Linked DNA regions of Homo sapiens: regions 2 and 3 are each linked to region 1. The links are contacts of gene promoters, found by promoter capture Hi-C in human tissues and cell types (Jung and others, 2019). All regions are on one chromosome and are shown on one strand. The core of a region is centred on a gene start or on the middle of the fragment in contact, and the rest is flanking DNA. Distances in the headings are between cores, read along the strand shown.

Evidence for each region. The method cuts DNA at HindIII sites, captures the fragments that hold promoters and counts their contacts. A contact is called where the count stands out against the background at its distance.
Region 2: a fragment that was not itself captured here is called in contact with the fragment with the promoter of C2orf81 in region 1 in 1 of the 25 tissues and cell types used here (pancreas).
Region 3: a fragment that was not itself captured here is called in contact with the fragment with the promoter of C2orf81 in region 1 in 2 of the 25 tissues and cell types used here (aorta and ovary).

What each region holds. Positions count from the first base shown.
Region 1 is chr2:74,418,629-74,423,681 of GRCh38, forward strand. C2orf81 (chromosome 2 open reading frame 81) reads right to left here and starts at 2,991. Exons shown (of 3, transcript NM_001316764.3): 1 at 2,915-2,991. The coding sequence starts at 2,932. It overlaps WDR54 (WD repeat domain 54), which reads left to right and starts at 3,102. Exons shown (of 10, transcript NM_032118.4): 1 at 3,102-3,188; 2 at 3,525-3,747; 3 at 4,242-4,304; 4 at 4,691-4,757; 5 at 4,850-4,903. The coding sequence starts at 3,526. It also overlaps the pseudogene HMGA1P8. RefSeq lists a silencer at 2,922-3,201 and an enhancer at 3,602-3,781. The HindIII fragment of the contact is 15,765 bases long and covers 1-5,053 here.
Region 2 is chr2:73,917,653-73,922,705 of GRCh38, forward strand. It overlaps ACTG2 (actin gamma 2, smooth muscle), which reads left to right. Exons shown (of 9, transcript NM_001615.4): 9 at 1,780-2,213. The coding sequence ends at 1,923. Among named protein-coding and RNA genes, the nearest start is that of DGUOK, 6.7 kb to the right of the region's middle. The HindIII fragment of the contact is 7,332 bases long and covers 1-5,053 here.
Region 3 is chr2:74,098,545-74,103,597 of GRCh38, forward strand. TET3 (tet methylcytosine dioxygenase 3) reads left to right here. Exons shown (of 12, transcript NM_001287491.2): 11 at 732-1,068; 12 at 1,849-5,053. The coding sequence ends at 3,632. Among named protein-coding and RNA genes, the nearest start is that of BOLA3, 47 kb to the right of the region's middle. RefSeq lists an enhancer at 906-1,405. The HindIII fragment of the contact is 4,695 bases long and covers 781-5,053 here.

The DNA.
Region 1 (5,053 bases), core at 1,741-4,240:
AATAGCCCAGGCTCGGAGTCCCACTTAGAAGAGCACAGCCCCGGCTCAGGGGAGCTTAAAAAGTTCTCTACATTTTTTTTTTTTAACCAACTATTCTTATCTCCATTTTATGGTAATTTACCCAGTATCATACAAGTAGGATGTAGTGAAGTCAGAATGCATTCACATGCAAGTCTGTCTGACTCCAGAGCCTCTCAAAGACATTTGCAACAAATATGAAAAAAGATAAATATCCCCGAGTAAATTAAAAGCTCATATAAAAAAAAAAATGGCCGGGCGCAGTGGCTCACGCCTGTAATCCCAGCACTTTGGGAGGCCGAGGTGGGTGGATCATTTGAGGTCAGGAGTTCGAGACCAGCCTAGCCAACATGGTGAAACCCCGTCTCTACTAATAATACAAAAATTAGCCAGGCATGGTGGTGGGCGCCTGTAATTCCAGCTACTAGGGAGGCTGAGGCACGAGAATCACTTGAACCCGGGAGGCAGAGTTTGCAGTGAGCTGAGATCATGCTACTGAACTCCAGCCTGGGTGACAGAGCGAGACTCTGTCTCAAAAAAGAAAAAAAAAACTAATAAAATAAAAAATAGAAGAAGAAAAATGGCCAGGCACAGTGGCGCACACCCACAGTACCAGCTGCTCGGGAGGCTGAGGCAGGGGGATTGCTTGAGCCCAGGAGTTCAAGTCCAGCTTGGGCTATATTGCAATAAAAATTTAAACTATAAGAAGAAAAACCATTTAAGATCCCAAAGATAAGCAAAGGACATGACATTTCACAAGAGAGGGACTGTAGATGACTAATAAATATAGTATTGACATTCTGATTTCTAGTTCATCAAATTGGAATTATTTTAAAAACAAGAATACTCAGCATTGGCAAAGGTTTAGTGTGATACCATGCTGCAACAGTATGCATGAAGACATTAAAAAATGTTTTCACTTCCTCAACCCTGCAATTTCAGTTCTATAAATACAACCAAAAGGCATTTTCTGAAATGAAGATAAAAATATATTCTCCAACAAATTCTCTGCGGTATTTTTATAATAGCAGAATATTGAAAACATGTCTTTAAAAAGAGAATAAATAATTGACATGCTATATATACTGAAATATTATGCAATGATTAAAGGTAATCTTTTTTTGTTTGTTTGTTTTTGTTTTTGAGACGGAATCTCGCTCTGTCACCCAGGCTGGAGTGCAGTGGCAAGATCTCGGCTCACTGCAACCTCTGCCTCCCAGGTTCAAGCAATTCTCCTGCCTCAGCCTCCGGAGTAGCTGGGATTACAGGCGCCTGCCACCAGGCCTGGCTAATTTTTTTTCTATTTTTAGTAGAGATGGGGTTTCGCCATGTTGGCCAGACTGGTCTTGAACTGGCCTCAAGTGATCTGCCCACCTTGCAGGCATGAGCCACCAACCCAGCCATTAAAGGTAATCTTTAGAAAGAATTTGCAATGGCATAAAGCAAATGTTTATGATGTAACGTTAATTGAAAGAAGCAGGATACAAACTTACACATCAATTATGATCTCATATATGTAAACCACTATGTGTTCAACAAAAGGAAAACTTCAAAATGATAACAGAGGATACGTTTCCTTCCTATGCTCTTTTCTATTTTGTAAGTTCTCTACAATGAGTTTGTTTCCTTTTGTAATCACTTAAAAAAAAAAAAAGACTAGTCCCCAAAACTCACTTTAGAGACATAAAAAGTTTACAAACAATCTCTTGGGAGCTCCCTCAATTCCCCACAACAGTCTCCCTGAACCTGGTTCCTTCCAAAATGTACTTCCAAATGTGATCTTCCCAAACCTTTGCCTATTGCCCCGCTAAAACCTTGTCTCATATCTGTTTCCTAAAATTCATTATCCCCCCAAATCTGCTGTTTCCTAAGTCTTGCAGAACTCAAAATCCCTGAAGTCTCATTAACCCTATCCACCAGTGAGAACAGCCCTGTAGCAAGCACCAGGAGTGGCCCATAGCCCAGGCCAAGCTTGACTAGAGCAGGGCTGACTGGACTGAGTAAAGAGAGTTGTTTCCTTAGACCTCCCCTCCCAGCCTCGCATCTGACACCCGTGATGGTGACCAGAAGGGACAGAGATATTTTTGCACAAAGGCTCTTCAAATCCGTTTTCTTTCTTCTTCTTCTTTTTTTTTTTTTTTTTTTTTTTTTTTTGAGACAGTCTCTCTCTGTCACCCAGGCTAGAGCGCAGTGGCGCGATCTCGGCTCACTGCAACCTCCGCCTCCCGAGTTCAAGCAATTCTCCTGCCTCTGCCTCCCGAGTAGCTGGGATTACAGGCACCGCGCCACCACATCCAGCTAATTTTTTGTATTTTAGTCGAGACGGGGTCTCGCCATGTTGGCCTGGCTGGTCTTGAACTCCTGAGCTCAGGCAATCCTCCCGCCTCAGCCTCTCAAAGTGCTGGGATTACAGGCATGAGCCATTGAGACCGGCCCCGTTTTCTTTATTTTAAAATTGATTGGCTCTTAAACAATTTGACTTTCAAGTGCAGTCTCTGAATTATTTAATATATTTCTTCCTCTTGAAATTCTCGAAATAGATTTTTTCTGTTATCTTCCCTCTCTAAATGCTCATCCATTTAAATACGCACCACCATGTAAGAGACTTACTACATTCATTAGCTGTTTCAAAATCCACTTCCTGTTCTCGGGCTCTACACCACCCACTGACCCTTTCCCTCATGGCTTGAGTGTAACAAAGCGTTTGAGTGGGCACCGTGCAGGTGTAGGTTTTCTGCCCGAGTACCGACGTGGCTTCCTTGGTCATCTAAACTCCCGCGCGGTGGGCGGGAGCAAGTAGGGGCACTGGGCGGCCCAGAGCCAGCCCACTGTTCCCGACACCGACCTTAACGGCCGACCCTGGCTCTGGCGCATCCCCAGCTGAACTGAAGCTCACCGAGCCTTCGTGCGCCATCGCCAACGCGGTCGCAGCAACGCTGGTGTTTCTGCTGCATCCGGGCCGCGTAAGCCACCTAACAGTCGCCTGGGCAACCACGGGCTCGGGGTCGCTCGCCCCGCCCACAGTTGCCCCGGCAACCGCGCCGCCCGCGGCACGTTCCGGCCGCTCACCCCGCCCAAGGGCCGTGCGTACGTGCGTCGTCTCTATGGTGGCGGCGGATTTGGAGGGACCCTACGAACCAGGAGTCAGGCGAGCCGATCTGGGGCTGCAGGTGTTACCTCTGATCTAGGCCGGGGGCTTCAGGGATCCGAGCCGAGGGAGAAAGCCTTGGGGGCTTCATCACACTTATTTGGCTCGCGGGCTTGGGGCCATCGGGTGGTCCTGTGTCATCCCCATTCCTCCTCTGCGATTCCCCCGTCGCCCCAAAACAGCCCTGGGACTCCCCTGTCTTGCTCCTCGAGACCCTCCCCCATCACCGTCCTCTGGGCACCCCATCCTATGACCCAGTCTCAGGCATCTTCCGAAATGCTCGATGATAGCCGCCCTCGGGCATCTCCGCTGCGTCTGTTTGTAGCGCGCCTGGTGATTCGGCTGCACCCCCACACAGGATGTTCCGCTGGGAGCGCTCCATTCCCCTGCGAGGCTCGGCCGCCGCCCTGTGCAACAACCTCAGTGTGCTGCAGCTGCCGGCTCGCAACCTCACGTATTTTGGCGTGGTTCATGGACCAAGCGCCCAGCTTCTCAGCGCTGCTCCTGAGGGTGTGCCCTTGGCCCAGCGCCAGCTCCACGCTAAGGAGGGTGCTGGAGTGAGTCCCCCACTTATCACTCAGGTGAGGCATGGAGCTGGGAGTGATGTTGCTGAACCCAGTCCTACCCCCAGCCTTTTCTCTCCAAACCTTCAGGAGCAGGCATGTCCTAACCTCAGAATCTCCCCAGGCATGTCCTAACCTCAGAATCTCCCCTCTCCTGCCGGGCGCGGTGGCTCACGCCTGTAATCCCAACACTTTGGGAGGCTGAGACGGGCACTTGAGGCCAGGAGTTCGAGACCAGCCTGGCCAACATGGTGAAACCTCTTCTCTACTAAGAATACAAAAAAAATTAACCGGGTGTGGTGGCGTGCACCTGTAATCCCAGCTACTTGGGTGGCTGAGGCAGGAGAATCGCTTGAACCCAGGAGGCTGAGGTTGCAGTGAGCCGAGATGGCGCCACTGCACTCCAGCCTGGGCCACAGAGCAAGACTCCGTCCCCCAAAAAAAAAAAAAAAACAAACAAACTCATCTTCCCTGCTTTGATTTTCTCCCTACACTGATGCACCTCCCTCCAGGTCCACTGGTGTGTCCTCCCCTTCCGAGTGCTGCTGGTACTCACCTCACATCGAGGAATACAGGTAAGAAGAGGACTCTCCTGCTTGCCCCACCAGAGCCTTCTCAGCTTCCCTGCCAGGCTTCCAGACTTTCCCACTTGCCTCTAAACACTTCCAGACTTTTCACATGCTTGGCCCACTCACTCTTTTTCTATTTCTTATCTTCAATCTTTCCATCTTTTCCAGTTTCCAAGTGCCACCTCCAGTATCTGCCCCTTTACTAGCTGTATGTCCTTACACTATTAACTTCTCACTCTCACTGTTGTCCTCTGAAAAAATTAGGATAAAAATAGTACCTACATCCCAGATTTGTTTTGAGGATTAAATGGGCTAAGGCTAACACGGATATGTGAAGTACTCAGCAGAGGTCAGTTGGGTTATGCCCCCTGGTTCTTGCCCCGGTCTTCCAGATGTACGAGTCCAATGGCTACACCATGGTCTACTGGCATGCACTGGACTCTGGAGATGCCTCCCCAGGTACCTGCAGGACCAAGTGGGGTGGGGGCAGGGAGTGTTTGCTAGGGCTGCAGGAGGGGATATTTCTGATCATTCTCCCCTTTCATATTCAGTACAGGCTGTGTTTGCCCGGGGAATTGCTGCCAGTGGCCACTTCATCTGTGTGGGTGAGGGAGCCAAGTGCAGGGCATGGAGGGGTGCTGGGGCATGTGGGCTGTGGCCAGGAGAATAATGAGGGCCTGAGGAAATTGTGGAAAGTTAGAGGGAAGGGTGGAAGTGGAGTGGAATCAGAGACTCCAGTAAACCATGGAAGGGTT
Region 2 (5,053 bases), core at 743-3,242, 500 kb before region 1:
ATGTAAGGAAATGTGTTCTCAGTCAATATTCTAAGAACCTTCATGAAGGAAGGCTGCCCCGGGCCTTCCCCCTGCCTAACAGATGGTGTTCATCACAGAGAAATGGAGCAAACCAGCAGGAAACTGGTGAGAACCTGTGGGCTCTTCTCACCCAGAGCCACAGGAATGGTGCATTACTGAGGCCTGTCCTGTGGAGAGCTGTGCCAGGCCTGGGGCAGGGGCTTTTTACCAGGACTGTGTGTCAGTATACCACGCCTAGCCTCACTCCCAGATTCTGGTCCAACAAGTCTGAATTGCTCCCCCATCACCTACACTGATAAACAACCACCAGTGATCTGATGCATTTCCCAATTCATGAGCCACAGCTCTGACTTAAACAGTACGTGCCAGCCTTCATGGAGTTTAGGATCTAATTAGTAAACATTATCAATACCAGGACAATCTAAATAAAAGCGGAAGGGAAAGGACACTCTAAGCAGAGGAAATAGAAGGAGCAAATGTGTCCAGGCAGGTGTGTGCTTATATGAGCACCTATCCAAATTGGACAGCAGGATTTGTTATAGGGGAACTGGGGGAGATGAGGCAAGTCTCAAGGACACAGAAGAACAGATTTGGGGTGGGGGTAGGGCTTATATTTAGGACCACCAACCTAAGAGAAGCCAGAGTTTTCTCATGAGAAGTGTCCAACAATAAAATTTGTTACCTTGCTAGTGGCTGTGCATTCCCAGTCCTTGAAATAATCTGTTCAAGGAGCATTTGTGTGACTTTTGTCTGCCTGGATAATAAAATAACTTCTAAAGATCCTTCTTATTCTACAATTCCATGATCTCTGTGATTTAGGGAATATGTAAAGAGATTCTACGGCAACAAAAAAAATCAATTTATTATCTGGTTTGCTCTAGCACTGAATTCTTAGACCCTTCCAAAACTGGAAAACTAGTTGAAGAATCATAGTCCTTCTGGATCCCCTTTGAAGTAGAGTTCAAAGTTGTTTGACCTGACAATCAATTTCTAAAAGCTAAGCCCAGGATTCCTAGTGGAAAGCATGAACAATGTAGATATAAATTTGAGGACTTCTGAGATATAATTGGCTGATGACAGATAGCTCAAAACAGGGTTTGGGTAGACTGGTTTATACTCAGGCATGGAGGAAGCCCAGCCCAACCTGCCCATGCTTCCAAACTCCAGGCAAGAACAGAACAAGGTTCCCCTTATAGATATTTGTATTGGTCAGCTATTGCCAAGTAACAAACAACCGTGGAATCTCAGGGGCACCTAACAATGAGCATTTATTACTCGTGCATCTGCGCATCACCTGGAAGTTAGCTGATCAAGGTCAGGCTTGGCTAAGTAAGTGGCTCTGAATTAACTGCAGGTCCAGCCAGCTCAGGTCAAGTCCATATTTCTCATTAATGGGCCCAGGCTGAAGGGCTAGCTGCTTCCCAGGGGCAGCTCTTCTCATGCACATGGCAGAGCAAGAGAACATGCCCAAGTACACAAGCATATTTCAAGCCCCTGTTTGTGTTATGTCTGCTAATATCCCATTGGTCAAAGCAAACACAATGCCCAGCCTTACAGGGAGCAGTGCACTCTTCCCATGGAAGGAATAAGGGAAGAGGGGGGAAGTGAAGGTTTTGAGCAATAATCTAATCTATCACAATGTTTCTCCTGTTCTTTTCTGACCATGGGGCTCCCCTTTTCTGGGATAAGTAGATTTTTGGACCACCTTGCTTATTCCCTTGGGGACTGATCATGATTCACCACATTTGTTCTTTGCAGATTATTGCTCCCCCAGAGCGGAAGTACTCAGTCTGGATCGGGGGCTCTATCCTGGCCTCTCTCTCCACCTTCCAGCAGATGTGGATCAGCAAGCCTGAGTATGATGAGGCAGGGCCCTCCATTGTCCACAGGAAGTGCTTCTAAAGTCAGAACAGGTTCTCCAAGGATCCCCTCGAGACTACTCTGTTACCAGTCATGAAACATTAAAACCTACAAGCCTTACTTCTCTGTGTGGGGCTCTTTTTTCCTGGGCTATGTCTCATACACAGTGCTAAGGACTTTTCACACATTACTTTTAATCCATGCAATAGTGCTGTAAGGTAGGTGCTATCATTATACCCATATTACAGATGAGGAAATTGAGGCTCAGAGAAGTCAAGGACTTGCGAAGATCACACAGATTCCAGATTAAAATTCAAGTATCTGACTGCAAAGCTAGTGCTCCTTCTACTGTGTCATCTTGTTTTCTTTTCCTTGAATATAAGTAAGAATGAGGCTAGATGACTCTTGGGATGGGGGTAGAAACACAGACTTTCAGTGATGTAAGTCCTTGTGCTCTAGGGCAGTTCACTAGGGAATATGAACGCAGTCGTGACATAGGCTTATGGGATGTGACATGAAGAGTTCACATACAATGTTACTGTCACTCACGTGAAGGAGGGTCACCGTGGGCTTAAGATCTCTATGATCTCTATGAGGTTGTCATTGAGGATTAGGCTGTATTTTTTTTTGTTTTTTTTTTGAGACAGAGTCTCACTCTTGCCCAGGTTGTGGTGCAGTGGTACGATCTTGGCTCACTGCAACCTCTGCCTCCTGGGTTCAAGTGATTCTCCTGCCTCAGCCTCCTGAGTAGCTGGGATTACAGGCATGCGCCACCACGCCTGGCTAATTTTTGTATTTTTAGTAGAGATGGGGTTTCACCATGTTGGCCAGTCTGGTCTTGAACTCCTGACCTCAGGTGATCTGCCCACCTTGGCCTCCCAAAGTGCTGGGATTACAAGTGTGAGCCACCGCGCCTGGCCAGGTTGTATTTTGCCCCAAAATTAATTAAGAAAGGAGTAGCATCGTTAGGAAGGACATTTTCTCTCCCTCCCTCTCCTGTTCCTCCTCCTCCTCCTCCTCCTCCTCCTCCTCCTCCCCTCTTTATCAATTTCCTCCCTACCCACTAGGTTAATTTTGTTTAATTTTACAAGTATTTACTGAATTTTTGGCATCTGGAATTGCCGGGTAAGGCCACAAGGGATTTATGTTTCCAACAAAGATGATTCCTGCCCATTAGGGTCTCACTGCATACAGGCAGAGATAGACACATGCATACAAGACAGTGACACGAAGTGAAACAAGCGCCTAAAAGTACTATGAGAAAATAAGGGATGATAATAATAGCTAACATGTATTCAGGCCAGGTTAAGAGTTTTGCATGGATTTCCTCAATTAATCCTCACCACAACCCTATGAGGCAGGTACTAGCATCATTTCCCATTTTATAGCTAGTTTACTGGTTACTAGGTCACCCAGCTAGTTCACCTTAGAACTAGATCCTCACATTGGGCTGGTGCACCTTTCACCTCCCCACCTAGCAAAGTCCCAGCCTTCGTGCCCCCATCAGATCCCACCTGGTCCATGAAGCTTCCCAGACATACCCATTTGGAGACAGTGGAGTCCAGTGGTTAAGCGCAGACACTTCAATGCCAGACATTCCTTTCACCCTCCCAGCACTTGATCTCTGTGGGTGGGGTGGGATGGAGGAGCGGCTTTCATAAGCCCTTAGGGGATTTCTGTGTGAGGACCAGAAGCAGACCCTGAAATGAGGATTCCCTGCAAACGACTTATTAAAGAAGTGCTCTGAGGACAGCTGGTAAGCAGAGTGCGGGGGAGGGGGGCGCAGAAGAGGAAAGGGGAGGAAATCTGTCAAGGGGGTAATTGCAGATAATGTCCTGGAGAGGGCAGCTTCAGCCTGGCCCCGCCCACTGGGAGCTCTGGAGTCTAAGGTTAGCCTGGTGAAGGACAGGGAGCCAGGCTTTCACAGTCCCACCTGCCAGTGGTTGGTGAGGGCGCTCCCTGGGAGGACTGAAGTCCTAGGCTTTCCACCTGTATCGGCAAAGGCCTCCTCCAAAGAAGAGCTGCAGGCTCTGGTTGCTGGAAGAGAAGGCACAGGAGGAGGCGGGAGCGATCTGAGATGTAGGGCACCGACACTGCGCTATAGAGGGGCATCCGGACCTCCACATGGAGAAGGGCAGGCTGCCCAGACTGTTCCCACAAACCCCCCGCACCCATCTGACCTCCCTTCCCCATCCTTCCACCCCTACTCCAGTCTTACTCTATTTCAAGTTTAAAAAATGCTGACCTAGATTCTTCAATGGATATGGAGTTATCCACTGACAGAGAGAGGGACAGTGGCTTGAGGAAAGTGGAAATCCAACTGGAAGTCTATTAAAGATCGACAAAAGTCAGGTGTGATGGTTCACACCAGTAATCCCAGCTACTTGGGACGCTGGGGTGGGAAGATCCTTTGAGCCTAATTCAAACCAGCCTCTGACAAGCGAGACCCTATCAGAGAGAGAGAGAGAGAAACAATGTCCCAGGCACTGAGGGCCTAAGAAGGCAGCCATTACTTATTATGTGTTATATAATGTCTATTGGGTGGTAACTGTGTGGCAGGTGTGGCAGGTGGATTCTCTCTCTTAATCCTCACCCCCAGGTCACTGGAATCCAGAGCCCACACTGTTAACCACCTTTTGATACGTCTCCCTTTATGATTAGGTGTATCAATACAGTTCATTCAGGGGAGCAGAGCCATTATGGGTATTATGGGAATAAGGGCTTTATTACAGGAATGACACTTTCCCCAAAGACTGAAGGAGCTGGAAAAGTGAAAGTCTGCAAGGAACTGTGGGATACTCCAAGAGGAGTCACAAATGGGTGGAGGACTAGGTGAAACCTATCTGCTGGGCACCTCTGTCTGTCATAGCATCTGACTAGAAGATTTCCACAGAGGAATGGCTGACACTCCCACTCTGCCTTCCAAATCTCACCCCAGGTCCTCTTTTGGCCAACTCTAACTCAGAGCCTTGTTGGTAGGGCGTTCTGGAAGTGTACTTTCCAATTTAACCAAATCGATTTAGCACAATCCAGCACATTATAAAATCTTCAAAGTAGGTGAGATATAGCTGGCTAAAAGTCCAGGCTGCAGAATAAAGTTTGGGCCACATTTTTGTATGTTTATCTCCCTTTTTTAATGGCTGCATGACATTTTAAATAATATTGGTCAGTA
Region 3 (5,053 bases), core at 1,878-4,377, 320 kb before region 1:
TGCCTAAATTTTCTATAATCAGCACATAGAGTTTATAATAAAAAGGAAACTCTTTTTTTTTTTTTTTGAGACGGAGTTTCACTCTTGTTGCCCAGGCTGGAGTGTAGTGGCATGATCTTGGCTCACTGCAACCTCCATCTCTGGGTTCAAGCAATTCTCCTGTCTCAGCCTCCCAAGTAGCTGGGATTACAGGCGCATGCCACCACGCCAGGCTAATTTTTATATTTTTGGTAGAGACAGGGTTTCATCATATTGATCAGGCTAGTCTCGACCTCCTGACCTCAGGTGATCCACCCGCCTTGGCCTCCCAAAAGGAAACGTATTTTAAGAGCAAAAGGAGGCTGAGTGTTTAGAACAAGGAAGATAATGGTGGACGGTCTGAGCTTCACTGGGCAACGTGGTGCTGTGGCGTCAGTGCTATGCCAGAGGGCAGAGCAAGCCTCCAGGTCCTGGCCAGGCCCCTTGCCAGGTATCTCATCTCCTCTCAGCCTTCTTAGGATCATAGGAGATAATGTGCCTTGAAAGTTGATGAGTGGACTGTAAATGCTGGTGATACTGTTGCCCCGTGAACCAAGATCAATGTGCTTTCCACAAACTCTTGGAAGTAGTAGTGGCTGGTATTGGGATTGTGTGGGGAAAGATGAGGTCATGTGTTTTGGGTGCTCAGACCCCTCTCTCCCAGCACTCGGTCCCCCAACCCCATGTCCTCTCTCCCCCACTGCTTGGGGCAGGTCTGCACCCTGACCAAGGAAGACAATCGCTGCGTGGGCAAGATTCCCGAGGATGAGCAGCTGCATGTTCTCCCCCTGTACAAGATGGCCAACACGGATGAGTTTGGTAGCGAGGAGAACCAGAATGCAAAGGTGGGCAGCGGAGCCATCCAGGTGCTCACCGCCTTCCCCCGCGAGGTCCGACGCCTGCCCGAGCCTGCCAAGTCCTGCCGCCAGCGGCAGCTGGAAGCCAGAAAGGCAGCAGCCGAGAAGAAGAAGATTCAGAAGGAGAAGCTGAGCACTCCGGAGAAGATCAAGCAGGAGGCCCTGGAGCTGGCGGGCATTACGTCGGACCCAGGTGTGTGGGGGGAGGGTGCCCGCTTGGAGTCACAATGGCACTGTCCTCATGGGGGCCCCTGCTCTTCCACGCACCCTCCTGCATCACACTGGAACTGGGGCCTCTGCTTAATTGTCAGTCAGAAGGGTATCTGCAGCAGCCACAGCCAGCCTGATAGGAGGCCGTGGGGATGCAAGTACAGCAGGACTTGTTATCTGCGTGGAAGTGAGCTTGGTAGAGGGGAAGCACTGGGTTTCTCCTCTAGTTTGCATCCCTCAGAGAATCAGAGGCTCCCCTCTGAGCTCTAGTTTGCTCCCCTCTGAGATACTGAGGTGAGTAGCAGCACTTCAGGACATGTGGGTGTGTGCCAGGGCAGCAGGGCTTATGGGCGGAGACGGTTGCTGGCAGGCATCTGAGTTCTCATTCTCCTGGCCCTGGTCCCTGCAGTGATCCCGACTGGGCTGGGCACAGAGTGGGTGGTGGTGGTTCAGTACAACTTCTGGAGTTCTCTAGGGTGAAGAGAGGAGTCGGTGGGGGTACTGTGGACCCCGCATGAGGTGCTTCTCAGCAGGGATCGCCTCCTCCCACCCCCAGTGGGGCTGGGGCTGGGGCCTGTGCTGAGCAGGGCCCAGGGAGTACGACCCGTTCTGGGCTGGACATGCCTCAGCACCTCACCTGCCTGTCCCAAAAGAGGAAACATCCCTGGGAAAGAGGGAGGGTCCATCCCCAGTCCCCGACCCAGGGCCTCTCCAGGCTGTGGTGTTGTCTGCCCCTCTGCCATCTTGCCTTCTGTTTCCCCAGGCCTGTCTCTGAAGGGTGGATTGTCCCAGCAAGGCCTGAAGCCCTCCCTCAAGGTGGAGCCGCAGAACCACTTCAGCTCCTTCAAGTACAGCGGCAACGCGGTGGTGGAGAGCTACTCGGTGCTGGGCAACTGCCGGCCCTCCGACCCTTACAGCATGAACAGCGTGTACTCCTACCACTCCTACTATGCACAGCCCAGCCTGACCTCCGTCAATGGCTTCCACTCCAAGTACGCTCTCCCGTCTTTTAGCTACTATGGCTTTCCATCCAGCAACCCCGTCTTCCCCTCTCAGTTCCTGGGTCCTGGTGCCTGGGGGCACAGTGGCAGCAGTGGCAGTTTTGAGAAGAAGCCAGACCTCCACGCTCTGCACAACAGCCTGAGCCCGGCCTACGGTGGTGCTGAGTTTGCCGAGCTGCCCAGCCAGGCTGTTCCCACAGACGCCCACCACCCCACTCCTCACCACCAGCAGCCTGCGTACCCAGGCCCCAAGGAGTATCTGCTTCCCAAGGCCCCCCTACTCCACTCAGTGTCCAGGGACCCCTCCCCCTTTGCCCAGAGCTCCAACTGCTACAACAGATCCATCAAGCAAGAGCCAGTAGACCCGCTGACCCAGGCTGAGCCTGTGCCCAGAGACGCTGGCAAGATGGGCAAGACACCTCTGTCCGAGGTGTCTCAGAATGGAGGACCCAGTCACCTTTGGGGACAGTACTCAGGAGGCCCAAGCATGTCCCCCAAGAGGACTAACGGTGTGGGTGGCAGCTGGGGTGTGTTCTCGTCTGGGGAGAGTCCTGCCATCGTCCCTGACAAGCTCAGTTCCTTTGGGGCCAGCTGCCTGGCCCCTTCCCACTTCACAGATGGCCAGTGGGGGCTGTTCCCCGGTGAGGGGCAGCAGGCAGCTTCCCACTCTGGAGGACGGCTGCGAGGCAAACCGTGGAGCCCCTGCAAGTTTGGGAACAGCACCTCGGCCTTGGCTGGGCCCAGCCTGACTGAGAAGCCGTGGGCGCTGGGGGCAGGGGATTTCAACTCGGCCCTGAAAGGTAGTCCTGGGTTCCAAGACAAGCTGTGGAACCCCATGAAAGGAGAGGAGGGCAGGATTCCAGCCGCAGGGGCCAGCCAGCTGGACAGGGCCTGGCAGTCCTTTGGTCTGCCCCTGGGATCCAGCGAGAAGCTGTTTGGGGCTCTGAAGTCAGAGGAGAAGCTGTGGGACCCCTTCAGCCTGGAGGAGGGGCCGGCTGAGGAGCCCCCCAGCAAGGGAGCGGTGAAGGAGGAGAAGGGCGGTGGTGGTGCGGAGGAGGAAGAGGAGGAGCTGTGGTCGGACAGTGAACACAACTTCCTGGACGAGAACATCGGCGGCGTGGCCGTGGCCCCAGCCCACGGCTCCATCCTCATCGAGTGTGCCCGGCGGGAGCTGCACGCCACCACGCCGCTTAAGAAGCCCAACCGCTGCCACCCCACCCGCATCTCGCTGGTCTTCTACCAGCACAAGAACCTCAACCAGCCCAACCACGGGCTGGCCCTCTGGGAAGCCAAGATGAAGCAGCTGGCGGAGAGGGCACGGGCACGGCAGGAGGAGGCTGCCCGGCTGGGCCTGGGCCAGCAGGAGGCCAAGCTCTACGGGAAGAAGCGCAAGTGGGGGGGCACTGTGGTTGCTGAGCCCCAGCAGAAAGAGAAGAAGGGGGTCGTCCCCACCCGGCAGGCACTGGCTGTGCCCACAGACTCGGCGGTCACCGTGTCCTCCTATGCCTACACGAAGGTCACTGGCCCCTACAGCCGCTGGATCTAGGTGCCAGGGAGCCAGCGTACCTCAGCGTCGGGCCTGGCCCGAGCTGTCTCTGTGGTGCTTTTGCCCTCATACCTGGGGGCGGGTTGGGGGTGCAGAAGTCTTTTTATCTCTATATACATATATAGATGCGCATATCATATATATGTATTTATGGTCCAAACCTCAGAACTGACCCGCCCCTCCCTTACCCCCACTTCCCCAGCACTTTGAAGAAGAAACTACGGCTGTCGGGTGATTTTTCCGTGATCTTAATATTTATATCTCCAAGTTGTCCCCCCCCCTTGTCTGGGGGGTTTTTATTTTTATTTTCTCTTTGTTTTTAAAACTCTATCCTTGTATATCACAATAATGGAAAGAAAGTTTATAGTATCCTTTCACAAAGGAGTAGTTTTAAATTCCATTTAAAATGTGTATTTATTGGATTTTTTAAAAGCGACAATAGTAATGGTAAAGGATGGGCAGGAAAGGCCAGTAGTGCTCCCCCGCCCAGTCTCGCTGGGTCTGGCGAGCCAAGCCCCTCGGGCGCTGGCGAGGTCCTCAGCCATCTGCCCCTCGAGAGCCAAGCGCGGACGGTAGCCACCCAGTTCATCCCTCCCGACATACACCCCTTCCCTTTGGGGAAGGGAGCCTCAGGACAGCTTCTGTCCTCTCTGATAGGATGGGAGAGTCTGCAGAAAACCATCTGGGGTCCCTTTTCCAGTCCCCGGCTTGGAGTCGAAGGGCAGATGCACCCCAGGCCAGCCCCACGAGATGCTGGCATAGCTTTCCCCAGAAACCAGGTTGGAAGTAGATGGCTTCAAGCTTGCTAGTCTCCACACTGAATCCTCTGTCCGTTATTTATGGAGTCACACGATGTCATGGTTCACTAGGCAGCACCTCACGCTGGAGCTGGAGTGCGAGGTTCTTAGGGGCCGTGCCCACCATGTTGCCAAGCCAATGCATGCTGAGCTGAAGGAATTTGTCTTAGTGGCAGTTTTTTAAAAAATGCCCCCAAAGTCTATGCTGATACTGAAAAAGGGCTACTGTATCTTTAAAAACAGGAAGTTGAACCCAAGCTGTGAAAAGCCAGTGGTGCTCTGTGCATGGTGCTGTGCGGAGCCTGGTGCTGTAGTGTTGTGCTGGGACTTTCTTGACTCTTGGGCAGGTCACATCCTACAGGAGCTCAGCAGACCAGTGTAACAACAGTTAATGCATCTATCCTGATCCCTGAATTTCCACATTGGACAATGGTGCATGCCTCACACCTGAGCCTGCTTCCTCCATGCTGTCATTGGGTTCGGGGGCCTACACTTAACAATTTTAAAGTGCAAGAGTCAAACATTTTCAACAGGTTGCTATAATTTTCCTCCCTAATTGGTGCCATTTCTCCATTTGATCATTTTCTTTTTTTCCTTTCTCCCCTCTTCATCCACTTTAATATA